Linked DNA regions of Homo sapiens: region 1 is linked to region 2. Evidence: promoter capture Hi-C in human tissues and cell types (Jung and others, 2019). All regions are on one chromosome and are shown on one strand. Each heading gives the region's core, a stretch centred on a gene start or on the middle of the fragment in contact. The rest is flanking DNA. Distances are from core to core; before and after follow the strand shown.

The links. The method cuts DNA at HindIII sites, captures the fragments that hold promoters and counts their contacts. A contact is called where the count stands out against the background at its distance.
Region 1: a fragment that was not itself captured here is called in contact with the fragment with the promoter of HCN3 in region 2 in 2 of the 25 tissues and cell types used here (dorsolateral prefrontal cortex and spleen).

The regions. Positions count from the first base shown.
Region 1 is chr1:155,464,857-155,471,857 of GRCh38, forward strand. All of the region lies in intron 3 of ASH1L (ASH1 like histone lysine methyltransferase), which reads right to left. Among named protein-coding and RNA genes, the nearest start is that of ASH1L-AS1, 94 kb to the right of the region's middle. The HindIII fragment of the contact is 5,103 bases long and covers 1,274-6,376 here.
Region 2 is chr1:155,272,178-155,279,500 of GRCh38, forward strand. HCN3 (hyperpolarization activated cyclic nucleotide gated potassium channel 3) reads left to right here and starts at 5,286. Exons shown (of 8, transcript NM_020897.3): 1 at 5,286-5,691. The coding sequence starts at 5,414. CLK2 (CDC like kinase 2) reads right to left here and starts at 1,327. Exons shown (of 13, transcript NM_001294338.2): 1 at 1,024-1,327. RefSeq lists an enhancer at 1,920-2,420. The HindIII fragment of the contact is 20,767 bases long and covers 2,617-7,323 here.

The sequences.
Region 1 (7,001 bases), core at 2,575-5,074, 190 kb after region 2:
TTTACAGCAAAACTGTAAGATGAAATCAGGGATACAAACTGTCAAAGTTGAAAAAGTAAAAAAAGAACATAACTGGATCATAAAGAAATAAGATTATGAAAATCTTTATAATAAACAGAAAATGAGCAGAAACCAAGAACCTGTTTTCAAATTGATTTGCCACAAAAAATCTTGATTGACATTTCCACTGGAGGAACTAAAACAAACCAAAGATATAAAAGTAATGCTACTTTTACAGATGCCTGGGTGTGAAGACAGTAAAACAGGCAAAGATAGCAGAATAGATAAAATTCTCACTGATAATAGTGTCTGCAGTGGTGGAGGCATCCCAAAGAAATCATGAGAATAAAGATTCAACTAACTACTCATTGAAGCCCTGAGCATCCTAGCCTAGAAAAACAAGGAATTTCCCTGGTGCCAAATACAAATTAGCAAAAAAAAAAAAAAAAAAAAAAACAGTGAATTAAATCAATAGTTGGTTGGACAAAACATATGTTTCTTTAGCCTAAGTTCACTATTAAAGCTTTTATAACTTAATATAGTATGAATTTTAGTCACACTCTGGAGATCAACACTAAAGACACAAGTAACTAAGAAATCATTTATATGAGTGGAATGTTTGATGTTTGCAATGCTAGAAATATCTTTGGGTGAATTACAGAAAAATAAATTAAGTATGCTAATTTGGAAGAATGCTATGCAGTAGTCAGTTCTAAGATATTATCGATTTTAAAATAATTTACTTTAAAAGTTTCTAACACTGAAATTGTTCCTTCCCACCAAAATTAAATTGTTACAAAAGTTTAGTTTTAAAAAAGATTTCTCTTCTTTCATTATTTATAAGTCAAAGCTATTTGGGAATGTGTGTTAAACAACGACTGAACCAAAATTGGTTGTAATAAAAATGGCTACCATAGTAAAGGAATATGAACATAAAATATCAAACTATTTGAGAACTTCTGGTCAAGATTTTTTTTGTTCCCAGATTCAAGTTCTGAATCCTTTGGTATGGTTCACAGTTGATAGCCACCTTGGAACCTTCTTGTGAATGAGCTGAATGCTAAGGTAAAAGCTGGGTCCACAATAAAAACAGCTGTTTTCAATTGTGGGAAATACAGAAAGCAATACATTTTATCTGATGCACCAACTAAATGCACTACAAGAGAGTATGACTCAGAGCCTGTTCTGGCGATTTTTAAGCTATAAAGTCTGTTTTGGCCGGGCGCTGTGGCTCATGTCTGTAATCCCAGCACTTTGGAAGGCCGAGGCAGGCAGATCACGAGGTCAGGAGATTGAGACCATCTTGGCTAACACGGTGAAACCCCGTCTCTACTAAAAATACAAAAAATTAGCCAGGCGTGGTGGCGGGCACCTGTAGTCCCAGCTACTTGGGAGGCTGAGGCAGGAGAATGGCATGAACCCGGGAGGCAGAGCTTGCAGTAAGCCAAGATAGCACCACTGTACTCCAGCCTGGGCGACAGAGTGAGACCCCGTCTCAAAAAAACAAAACAAAACAAAACAAAACAAAAACTCTGTTTTTTTCTCTAACTAGGCTATTTTTCATAATGCCCAAATGACATCATTCACTGAAATGGAATTCTTCTGGAAATTCCCCTAACTGCACTAACCACACCACAAACAATTTTCTTTCATCTCTGTAGGTTCACACTTCCTTTATAGGCATATCTTTTTTCTATCATGTTTTAAATCTTTTTAAAATTGATACATAATAGTTGTACATATTTATTGGGTACATGTGATATTTTGTTACATGTATAGAATGTATAAGAATCAGGTCAGAGTATTTTGGGTATCCATCACCTTGCGTAGTTATGATTTCTGTGTCAGGAACATTTCAAGTCCTCTCTTCTAGCTATTTTTGAAAAACACAATATTGTGCTGTCACCTATAGTCACCCCACCCTGCTACTGAACATCTGAACTTATTCCTTCTAACTGTTGCATAGGTGTGTCTTATAAACAGCACTAGAGAAATTGTTTGAGATCAGTATATTCTGATCAAAGCTTATACTCTTCAGTTAAAGAGAAAACTCAGTATTCTTTGCTTCAATCTATATGCTTGTACAGTGAATATACTTTTTCCAAAAAAAAAAGGTTTAAGCCTCACTTATTCTTGGAGGACAAAATATTCATCATCACTGAATGCACCAAATAATGTATATAATTTACATGTAGTAAATCATTTATAATAATGTTCCATTGTCTGCTTGTTCTATGACTTGTAAGCTATAAATGCTAAATGAAAATACTCCATTCTACTGCTCTGCCAATTTTAGAATCCAGGTTTGTAAGTTCTGTCATGTGTAGCCAGCCATGAGTCACATATGCTGAAAAACAGGGATGAAATAACTGACATTCCAGGTCAGAAACTCTTGCTCATCCAAGTCAGAAACTCTTGCCCATGAGACCTATTTCATGTCTACCTAACATACATACATAAATTAAATAGAATCACTATCAGGATTGGGAGAAACCAGGAAACCTGGCCTTACTTAAGTGTGTAATTTTACTGTAATTTCACTTGCATCAAGCTGATTTTATAGCTGTTAGTCTGTACAGTACAGAACAGTATATGTTAGAAAAATAAGCTAACTACCATATGCACATAATTTATAAAAGTGATTATAGCTGTTATTCCTTTTAAGTCTTCATAAGATTTAATTTTACAGTGAATATACTTGTTTACTTTAAAAATGCTCAAAGTGATAAGTCAGTTTGATTCCCCATTTTTGAAACAAGGAGAGAAGGGTTAAATGCCTTGGTCCAAGCTACACATTCCAGTGTCCCTAATCTGGTTTCATTTATTTTTCCTGAAATTTATATCAACATGATTTATCAAATATGCCTGTTTTACCCCCAACCAACACTTATGAGGAATCCACTCAATACAAATAGTAAATAACCTTTATTTCTTATTTCATCAATTATCAGTTTGAGATATGTTTTACTTAACAATTTGTATTCTGCTGTATTAAAAAAACTCATTATTCTGGAATAAATTCAGATTTACATAAAAGTTACAAAGATAGTACAGAGAATACTCGTATGTCCTTTACCCAACATCCCCCAATGTTAACATCTTACATAACTACAGTACATTTGTCACAACCAAGAAATTAATATTGGAATAATACTATTAACAAAATTCCAGACTTTGTTTAGATTTAGCCAATTTTTTTCCACTCATGTCCTTTTTTCACTGTCAATCTGGGATATCACATTGTATTTAGTTGTCATGTCTCCTTAGTCTTCTCTGTTCTGTAAAAGCTTCTCAGACTTTCCTTGTTTTTTCAGGTCCTTGATACTTTTTAGTACTGGTCAAGTATTTGTAGAATGCCCTTTATTATTATTATTATTTTTTTTTTCTGCTTAGATTTAACACATTCTATCAGAGAGTACATGATATCACCATGCCTTATCATTGGTGAAGTTAACCTTGAACTTGGTTAAGGTGCTGTCTGCCAGGCCTCTTCACTGTAAAGTTACTGCTTTTCCCTCTTCATACTCTGTTCTTTAAAAGTCAGCAGTCCAGTCCATATTCAAGAAGAGGTAAATTAAGTTCCACCTCCTGAAAGTGTGTTCTACATATATTATTTGGAATTTTTCTGTAAGGAAGATTTGCTTCTTTTCTGCCAAGTATTTATTTAGTCAATCATTTATTTAAATCAACATGGATTTATAGATATTGACTTTATTTTTTAGGTTATAATCCAATCCTCTCATATTTATTTTGTTGCTCAAACTGTCCCAGCTTGGACCACTGGGAGACATTTCAGGATAATAATATCCTGAAGGTGATCAACAATATTGCAATACCTATTATACAGTAGGTAGTTTTGGGAGCATTTTAACATGATACCAAATGTAAAATGAATCTACCTTAAATTTATATATGGAAAAAATCAACTGAAGACCGAGAAGATCACTTAAAAATCATATGTAATTATGTATTTCTTAAACCTTTATACTTCAAAAAGCAACCTGACATCACAGATTGAGAAAATGTAATTACATCTTCAACAGAATGCTATAGAATAACAATGTCATTGTAAGGAAAAAGCAAATAATAAACCAGTCAGAAGTGCTACAAAAGAAAACACTGAGGAAAAAATAGCAAAATGTAAAGGTGTAAGAATTTTAATTGTCTGCATTTCCTAACTTCCATTCCTCAGCCTCCAGAAATCTAACATTTGCCACTATACAAATGGCTCTCAGACACAAGACAAACTAACCGCCAAAGCCAATCATCCACTTTCAGTACTTACCTAACCAATCTCCCATAACACTTGACACTCTTTTTTTTAATTAATTAATTTTTTTTTTTTGAGACGGAGTTTCTCTCCTTGCCCAGGCTGGAGTGCAATGGCGTGATCTCAGCTCACCACAACCTCCACTTCCCAGGTTCAAGCAATTCTCCTGCCTCAGCCTCCTGAATAGCTGGGATTATAGGCATGTGCCACCACGTCCGGCTATTATTTGTATTTTTAGTAGAGATGGGGTTTCGTCATGTTGGTAAGGCTGGCCTTGAACTCCCGACCTCAGGTGATCTGCCCGCCTCAGCCTCCCAAAGTTCTGGGATTACAGGCGTGAGCCACCACGTCCACCCACTTGACACTCTTGACTATAATAAACTCACTTAAGAAACCCACTGAATTCACCATAAATATTGTCATTCCTTCTCATAGCCTTAATAATAAAGTATCTATAATTATCTTCAGGTTTTACCTCTCCTTTGAGCTACAGATCCATCTGTCCTACAAAACAGGCTTGAAATCCAAATTTATTACCTATTTCCAACCTTATCCTTTTGCATATCTCATTTCACTTAATCACATCATCTCTACCTTGGCTCAGAGCCTCATAATAAGAGCCTCATAATATTTTGTGGGAGCAGTTTCCAAACTGATCTACCTGATCTCTTTTCACTAATCCATCTATCACACTGCTGTCAATGTAATCTCAACAAATTATTCCCCATCTTAAAACCCTTAACTTCTCATACCTTATAAAGTAAACTCTATACTCTTGGGAGTCTCATATAAACGAGGACTTTATGATCTGCCTATCTTTCCAGTCCCATCTCTTGGGTCCCATATCAAACCATTAACACTTAACTAAGCACAGTAACACATCCCCATGCCCTTGCAAAGCTGATATCTAGTGTAAGAAACACGTGTCACACATTATTCTTCGCTGCTAAATTCAAAACTCCCTCCTCCTTCCCAAGACCTTTAAAGTCAGTCCCTCACTTCTCTGCTCCCCAAAATGCCTTGTAAGTATCTCAATATTAAGAACCGTCAGGCTGTGCGCGGTGGCTCACACCTGTAATCCCAGCACTTTGGGAAGCCGAGGCGGGTGGATCACCATAGGTCAGGAGTTCGAGACCAGCCTGGTCAACATGGTGAAACTCCGTCTCTACTAAAAACACAAAAATTAGCTGGGCATGGTGGCACACACCTGTAATCCCAGCTACTCAGGAGGCTGAGGCAGGAGAATTGCTTGAGCCTGGGAGGCGGAGGTTGCAGTAAGCCAAGATTGTGCCACTGCACTCCAGCCTGGCCAACAGAGTGAGTCTGTCTCAAAAAACAAAAAACAAAAAAAAACAAAAAAAAAAACTGTCAATAACTATTCATATACATGTCTAAACTATAAATCAACTTTAAAGCAGAAATTACCTTTTTTTTTTTTTTTCTGAGACAGAGTCTCGCTCTGTTGCCCAGGCCGGAGTGCAATGGTGCAATCTCGGCTCACTACAATCTCCACCTCCTGGGTTCAAGTGATTCTTGTGCCTCAGCCTCCCGAGTAGCTGGGACTACAGGCATGTGCCACCATGCCTGGCTAATTTTTGTATTTTTAGTAGAGGCAGGGTTTTACCATGTTGGCCAGGCTGATCTCGAACTCCTAACCTCAAGTGGCCCACCCACCTCGGCCTCCCAAAGTGCTGGAATTACAGCATGTTCCTTCTCCTGGCACACAATAGGCACAAAATAACTGTTTGCTGAAAGAACAGCTACCATCATAAGGGAATAGTTAAGAATAAAAATCAAATACATAAAATACTCCTAAACAAAACCAGTTCTGACTTTCAAAGGGATCAAAACAAAAGATATCTGAGCCTGAATTAATATTTTTATTTAGTATTCTGCTTAACTAAAAACTTTTCCTCGACTGGTTTTTGTTAAGACAACTAAACCTATTCTCACATCTACCTGAAAAAAGTATATTAAGTTTCTATTAGAAAATCAAGTCACATCTCCATGTACTTATCAACAGTAATTGTGAAGAAGATGGAGAGATTCCAAGATAGAGAACAATTAACAAAAGAATTTAGACTTATGATCAAGTAAAGAATATAGCTGGTCTTTGTCCCTGGTTCCTGGCACAGAGTTTCAAAAACCCTTGTAATTACCCAAGTGACAGGAATGTCTCTGTTACGACAGTGAGATGAAAGCCTGAGGTAACTTCAAGATGGGGGCCGGTGACCAGAAAGACCAAATCACATAATTAAAAATCTGAAACTTTGGGTCACCCCAACCTCAAGGGAGTGGAGAACTGAAAATTGAATTAAAAAACATGGCCAATGATCTAATCAATCCGGCCTACCTAACAGAGCCCCAATAAAAACTCTGGACACTGAGGTTCACTGGAGCTTCCAGGTTGGTGAATATAGTGATGTGCTGGGAGGGCAATGTGCCCGGATTCCACAAGGGGAAAGGCATGGAGGTCTGTGGACCCTTCTTGCACCAAACACTGCTCTATGTATCTCTTCAACTAGTTGTTCTTGATCTGCATCCTTTGTAACAAAACTGTAATCATACTATAGTGCTTTCACAAGTTCTGTGAGTCCTTTTAACAAGTTACCAAAATTGAGGGGGTTGCACGAAGTTGCAAATTTTTAGCAGGCCAGGCAGAAGTATGGATGTCTCAGGAACACCAAAATTTGTGACTGGCATCTGCAGTCTCATGATGAACTCTGCTCTT
Region 2 (7,323 bases), core at 4,036-6,535:
AGCTAATTTTGTATTTTTAGTAGAGACAGGGTTTCTCCATGTTGGTCAGGCTGGTCTCGAACTCCCAACCTCAGGTGATCCGCCCGCCTTGGCCTCCCAAAGTGCTGGGATTACAGATGTGAGCCACCGCGCCTGGCCAGTAAGTGGTTTTTAATTAATATCAGCCCTACTTAGCTGACAGCTGGCCACCTTCCAGTTAATGGAATTGGAATGGGATGGTTCACAAATCCTTTTTTTCCTTCAAGGAAAAAAGAGAAAAATCACTGTCACAATCCAGGAAGATGAGAATAGGAAGGCACAATAAAATGAAACAGGCCCAGGGACATAAGTCTTGGTGGGGGTGTATGAGAATCGCGTATGCAAAAGGTTTAATGATTCCGATGTCTGACCACCATTCTGTATCACTTCTTCCCAACCTCCCCAAATTGAGGAGGGTGGTATTTGATGCATTCTTGGTGTAACTGGGGCCGGTAGCATACCAAGCTGCAAGCACAAGATTTTCCCAGCATAGTTATCCTAATCAGCATAGCCACATAAATGCCATCTCACCACATACTACCATCAAACGGCCTCACAGCACTGTCCCCTCAAAACATCACTAGCCTACCTTTCTCAAGTTTGAAATCTTTTGCTTTTTCCTTTCTTACTCAGAAAATCCAGAACTCCTACAGGCAAATTCTTCCTGCATGTTCCAAGTGACACGGTGATGTATTCCTCCCCTCCAGCTTTGATTGGACCCGAGTCCAACTTTGATATTCCACTCCTTCACATCTCTGGAACCACTCCCATCCTTACTCTATCATCCCTTCTAGTCTGGTTCCGCCCAAGCTTCCTACAGGTCTTCTTGGTACATCTAACGCAGGCCGACCTCCTTCCCCCTCATCTCCCTACTCCGTCGCTTCGTAGGTCTCAACTCTCCTCCTCTCCAAATCTCGCCCCCGTCCCTTGCCCCCAACCCAAGCCTAACCCCGCCCGCCCCGCGGTCGCCATCTTTTCGCGCGGCCAGCCAACCCGCGCGCTCACCGTTCTGGCGGCGAGGCCCGTGCGCTTGTCCCACAGGAAGTCCGTGATGGCGGCGACACTGCGGCCGGAGTCCCGGCACCCCCGCGGCGACGAAATGCTGCTCCACCCCCCCAACCCGGGACCCTGGGACCTCCCGCCCCGTTCCCGGGCTCCGCTTCAGTCCCGCCCGCCCCGGCTCCGTCCCCGCCCCTAAGATCTGCTTGGCGCCGCTCGCACCGCCCCCGCCCGGGGCCCGATCCCAGCTCGGTCTCCGGCTCTGGCCTCTCCGCTCCGCCGCCGCCGCCGTGAGCGAGCACGTACGCACGGACCGACGTCCTGCGTCGCTTCCCAGCTACCCCCTGGGCTCCGCCCCCAGGACCGCGCGCGCCACCACGTGCTCACGTAGTTGGCAGGCATCCGCCTGTCAGAGCCTCGGAGGTACTGGGGGCGGAAGTTCATAGGGGCGAGGAGGGTCCACAGGGACAAGCTGGAAGCCTTCCAGGCCCGCTATGCCCCGCCTCCTGTCCTTTCCCACTCCGTCTTCAATCTTTTACCCTTTGCATGGAGACGTGTGGCTTAGTTAGGTTTGGAGTTTAAAAGAAAGGATTGTCATTGTCAATACAGTGTCGCTGCTCTGCAAGCCTGACTGTAGTGAGGCTTGATGGTGAAGTCTCATTCTTCTGCATAGCCTGAAAATAACCATTTCTTAAAACACTTCACCTACCTATCCCCAGGACAAAAGTCTGCCACCTTTTGTCATCAACAAAAGTTATGCACGACTCGGGGTGGGGACACAGCCATGGAGGAAAGGTTTGAGCAATGGAGGGTTGGAGAATCGGGTGCCGAAAAGGGGGACTTACTTGAGAACTGTATCCTAAGGTGGCTTACATAATGTGTGAGAAATACAAGTTTACTAGGGCCGGGCGCGGTGGCTCTCGCCTATAATCCCAACACTTTGGGAAGCCGAGGCGGGCGGATCACGAGGTCAGGAGTTCGAGATTAGCCTGATCAACATGGTGAAATCCCGTCTCTACTAAAAATACAAAAATTAGCCGGGCATGGTGGCGGGCGCCTGTAATCCCAGCTACTCAGGAGGCTGAGGTAGGAGAATCGCTTGAACCCGGGAGGCGGAGGTTGCAGTGAGCCGAGATCGGGCCATTGCACTGCAGCCTGGGTGACAGAGCGAGACTCTGTCTCAAAAAAAAAAAAAAAAAAAAAAAAAAGCGCGCATCACCACGCCCAGCTATTTTTTTTTTTCTTGTAGAGATAGTGCCTCACTTTGTTACCCAGGCTAGTCTTGAACCCCTGAGCTCAAGCAATCCTCCCCCATCGGCCTCCCAAAGTGCTGGGATTACAAGCATCAGCCACGGCGCTTGGCCAGTTTACTAAATCTTAAAAAAGAACAGGAAGGCTGGGCGAGGTGGCTCACGCCTGTAATACCAACACTTTGGGAGGCCAACGTGGGTGGATCACTTAAGCATAGGAGTTTGAGACAGCCTGGGCAACAGGGCAAAACCCAGACTCTTAAAAAAATACAAGGCCGGGCGCGGTGGCTCACGCCTGTAATCCCAGCACTTTGGGAGGCCAAGGCGGGCGGATCACGAGGTCAGGAGATCGAGACCATCCTGGCTAACACGGTGAAACCCCGTCTCTACTAAAAATACAAAAAATTAGCCGGGCGAGGTGGCGGGCGCCTGTAGTCCCAGCTACTCGGGAGGCTGAGGCAGGAGAATGGCGTGAACCCCAGGGGGCGGAGCCTGCAGTGAGCCGAGATTGCGCCACTGCACTCCAGCCTGGGCGACAGCGAGACTCCGTCTCAAAAAAAAAAAAAAAAAAAAAAAAAAAAATACAAAAATTAGGCCAAGCGCGGTGGCTCATGCCTGTAATCCCAACAGTTTTGGAGGCCCAGGAAGGTGGATCACTTGAGCACAGGAGTTCGAGACCAGCCTGGCCAACCTGGTGAAACCCTGTCTCTACTAAAAATACAAAAATTAGCCGGGTGTGATGGCAGGTGCCTGTAATCCCAGCTATTTGGAAGGCTGAGGCACGAGAATCGCTTGAATCCAGAAGGTGGAGGTTGCAGTGAGCCGAGATGGTGCCATTGCACTCCAGCCTGGGCGACAGAGTGAGACTGTGTCTAAAATAAAATAAAATAAAAAATAAAAATTAGCCATTCATGGTGTCTCCCACCTGTAGTCCCAGCTACTCGGGAGGCTGAGGTGGGAGGATCACCTGAGCCTGGGGAGGTTGAGGCTGTAGTGACCCGTGATCGTGCCACTGCACTCCAGCTTGGGCGACAGAGTGAGACTCTATCTCAAAAAAAAAAAAAAAAAAAAAAGAAAAGAAAAGAAAAAAAGAAAATGAGAAAGAGAAAGAGTTAGAGACTTTACAGAAGGAATTGAGAAGTGGTCAGAAAGGTCAATTGAAAGAGAAATAATATAATCTGAGAATAACGATATTAAAGTCAGGGAGCTGAGCAAGGTGGCTCACACCTGTAGTCCCAGCTACTCAGGAAACTGAGGTGGGAAGATTGCTTTGAGGCTGCAGTGGGTCATGATCACACCACTGCACTCCAGCTTGAGCAACAGAGCAAGACCCTGACTCTAGAATGAGTAAATAAATAAAGTCAGGAAATATTAGAGAGGAGCTGGATGAAGGATGGTCAGATGGAGGTTAGATCAGATAACCAGACATAGTTTAGAGAAGTTCCCTGGAATAGAACATGGAGAGCAATCAATGAAGGAGTCGGGGAGAGAGAAGTAAAGATTTCACTTCCACCTCCTGGAACATTTTCCTAGATTATTAATTCATTCAACAAGCATTTACTGAATGTCCACTATGTGTCCAGAATTATGCCAGGTGCAAGGTTCCTGTTTCTCAGAGTTTCACAATCTAACAGGAGAGAAAATCTGTAAATAAATAATGAGACCATGCTCATGCCTGTAATCCTAGCACTTTGGGAAGCCAAGGCAGGAAGATCACTTGAGCTCTGAGTTCAAAACCAGCCTGGGCAACATAGTGTGACCTCATCTCTAAAATAATAATAATAATGGTAGCCCTGTGACATGAGTTGCTCAAAACAGTGGTGCCCTGGCTGCTGTAAAAAAGCTCTAGAATAGACCCTACCTGAGGAAAGGAGAGTTGGAAATGTGTTCCTAGGTTTCCTAGAGAAAGCAAGATCTGAACCAACTGTTCGAAAGTGAATTGGAGGAGAATACCAGGCAGAGAAAATATTTGCAAAAGCATAGAGACAAGGCAGCACAAAGTCTTTCAGCATGATTGGGGCTGTGGCTTTCAAGAGAGGGACTGTCAGAAGAGAGACTGTTGAAACTAGGTCCAAATTTTTTGGGCCTGGTACACCATGCTAAGCAGCTTAAATGTACCCCTGTAGAAGATGGGAAAGCTTGATGGGCTTCAAGCAAGTGACACAGCCATAGTTGGATTTTAGGAAGGTAACTGGCAGGGAATGGAAGAAGAATTGGCCTGGAAGAGGTTGAAGACTCTTTTAGAGGTTTCCGAAGTAATTTAAGTGAAAAAATGCTGAGGGCTTGAAATGAGGCAGTGGTAATAAGAATTGGAGATGAAGGGGAGAATTTGAGATATTTAGGAATTTGTAGCACTTCGCATAGCACTGCAATTTACCTGTCTGTCGTTGGGCACAGATGAGCAGTGGCTTTATGGCTAGGCCTTTGTTTTTGTTTTGTTTTGTGTTGTTTTCCATTACTACATGGAGATGCTAAGACTAGGACTTTTGTATTCATTTTTGTTTCCTCAGCATCCACTCAATGACAGGCAGAGTTGCACTTGGTGAAGGCTGACAGAATGAATTAGGAAATTAAATACTAGGGGAAGCAGTTCGGAGGAGACCAAAAGACAAGAATATGCCTAGGACAGTGTTGAGAGAAGACGGGAGCAGGACAGAAGTCCCTGGGCGAGAGTGGAGAAGAATCCCAAAAGCCATTTCCACTTCTTCCATTGGTCCCCAATCCCTCTCCCTCCCAAGTCCTTCAAGCTACAAACCCGCGTCCGATTTTCCCGCCACTGCAGGGGGCTCCTCCTCCCTGGTTCTCAGTGGATGAAAGGCCAACGCTAGGCCACGCCCTCTCCCTGGCTCAGGCTGCGCTCCCCGCCTTCTTTGCTAAGCCACGCCCCTCTCGGAGTTCCTCCAGGATCCCGGCGTCCCAGCCCCGCCCGGTCTTGGCGCGGCCCTCGCCAGGGGGCGCCGCGCAGCCCGCCCGCCGCCCGCCAGTCTAGCACACACCCCCTCCGCCCCGCGCGCCGGCGATTCCGAGCCTACGACGCCTCCGCTAGAGCCCGCGGGGCTGCGCCGACTCCTGCTCTGGAGGGGTTGCGGGTACCTGATGGCCACAGAGGGCTCTAGGAGGCCGAGCGTGTAAGCGGGGTGGGCGCCATGGAGGCAGAGCAGCGGCCGGCGGCGGGGGCCAGCGAAGGGGCGACCCCTGGACTGGAGGCGGTGCCTCCCGTTGCTCCCCCGCCTGCGACCGCGGCCTCAGGTCCGATCCCCAAATCTGGGCCTGAGCCTAAGAGGAGGCACCTTGGGACGCTGCTCCAGCCTACGGTCAACAAGTTCTCCCTTCGGGTGTTCGGCAGCCACAAAGCAGTGGAAATCGAGCAGGAGCGGGTGAAGTCAGCGGGGGCCTGGATCATCCACCCCTACAGCGACTTCCGGTATTGGGGGCTTGGCGGGGAGGGCAGGGTACATCAATCCCACCCTCGCGGGCAGCGACACCGGGACCCGGCCCGCCCCACCCTCCACGGTCACTTCATTTCCAGCCCGGGGTCCCTTGGTGGGGCGGGAGAGTCACTTGCACCAGTCTAGCCTGGGAATTCCTGGGCGGGTATCCCCTGCCGGAGGTCCTCCGTGCCTGGACAGGCTGGGGGCACCAGAAGGGGCAAGCAGACATCAGGGGATCTCCAGAGACCTGGATTTCCTCTTTCAGGAACCCGGGACCCCATCCGGACCAAAGGAACTACCAGAGTTTGGGACCCCTGCCTCCTCCAGTCCTGCTTGCTGGAGATCTAGGAAATTATATTCTAAGTATCGGGGCCAGTCTGAGGGAGAAGCCGAGCTCCGCCATCTCCCATCCCCACACCCGCTCCTTAGCACCTGCCTAGTTCAGCATGACAGACTACCAGGAAAAATAGGGACGCTGAAGGGGGCGGGGGGTCCAGACCTCAGCTCTGGTCGCTGTCCCTAGTGCTGAAGGCGGGGGCGGCGGGGCGGGGCCGAGACTCAGAGTGACTGAGGCGGCAAAGCAGGGGCAGGACCACCACCCAGGTGACTCCCAGAGAAGGAACAGAGGGTGGGGGTGGGGCCATTTCACAGTCTCCGTCAGGGTGTACCTCTACATCAAGGTCGCTAGGGGAAGACAGCAGCCCTGTCCTTGGGGGAAATGAAGGACAGCTCTTGGATGAGGCAGGGATGTGTGCAAAGCACCTAACCTGGGGAACTAAAGAAGCAGAGAGGAAGAGGTGTGAATCTGGAGCCTCGAAATACAGTTGTAGACCCAGACATTATCTTGAATCCACATATATACACACTCCCTCTATGTCTCTCTTCCTCCCATTGTTCCTTTCACTCCTGTCTTTGCTGCCTCGTTCCCACCCAGCCAGTGCGCCTTTTCTAGTCTCCTGTGGATCTCACTCTCTTCCCTCAGTTCACTCGCAGACGGATCCCCAGAAGCCTGGTATCCCTCTGATTGTGCTTCTCCATTCTCTATACTACATCACCCGCCAGGCTTGTGACCCACCTGTGAGTCAGGCTGTGAAGATGCTTTCATGGCTAGGCGAACCCTCTTTCCCTCCCCTCTCTTAGTGTCTCACAATACAGGATTCCTCCTCAGCAGCCGAGGAGAGAAAAGAAGAATGGCCGAGGGTTTTTGTTTATTGAAAACATACAGTCTAAGGGGCTTCCCAGAGGCCCGGACTTGAGGAAGTTTCTTTCAGGGCTGAAAATTGATTTTGCAGTCCGAGTCAGAAGGGGCTAGCTCCTGAGTTGACACTGGGATTAGGTGTGTCCTAGAATTAAAACCACCATAGGTAACTGAGTCCCTGAGATTTTCCTGTGCCATTCTCTGAATGAGGGCTTCACACAGTTCCCTCTTGACCTCTTCTTTCCACGGTGTCTGCCACAGCAATGTCACTCACCCCTGCCCATGCCTCTGCCTGTGCTCAGCCAGAGTCCCAGTGGACACAGGGAGGCCAGAGGAGGAAAGGTATGCAGAACTCAAGCCTTGCTGCTTCATGATCTCCTGTGGAGCTTCTCTGTGTGTGCAGCCCTGTTTGAGGTTCTGTGGAGGG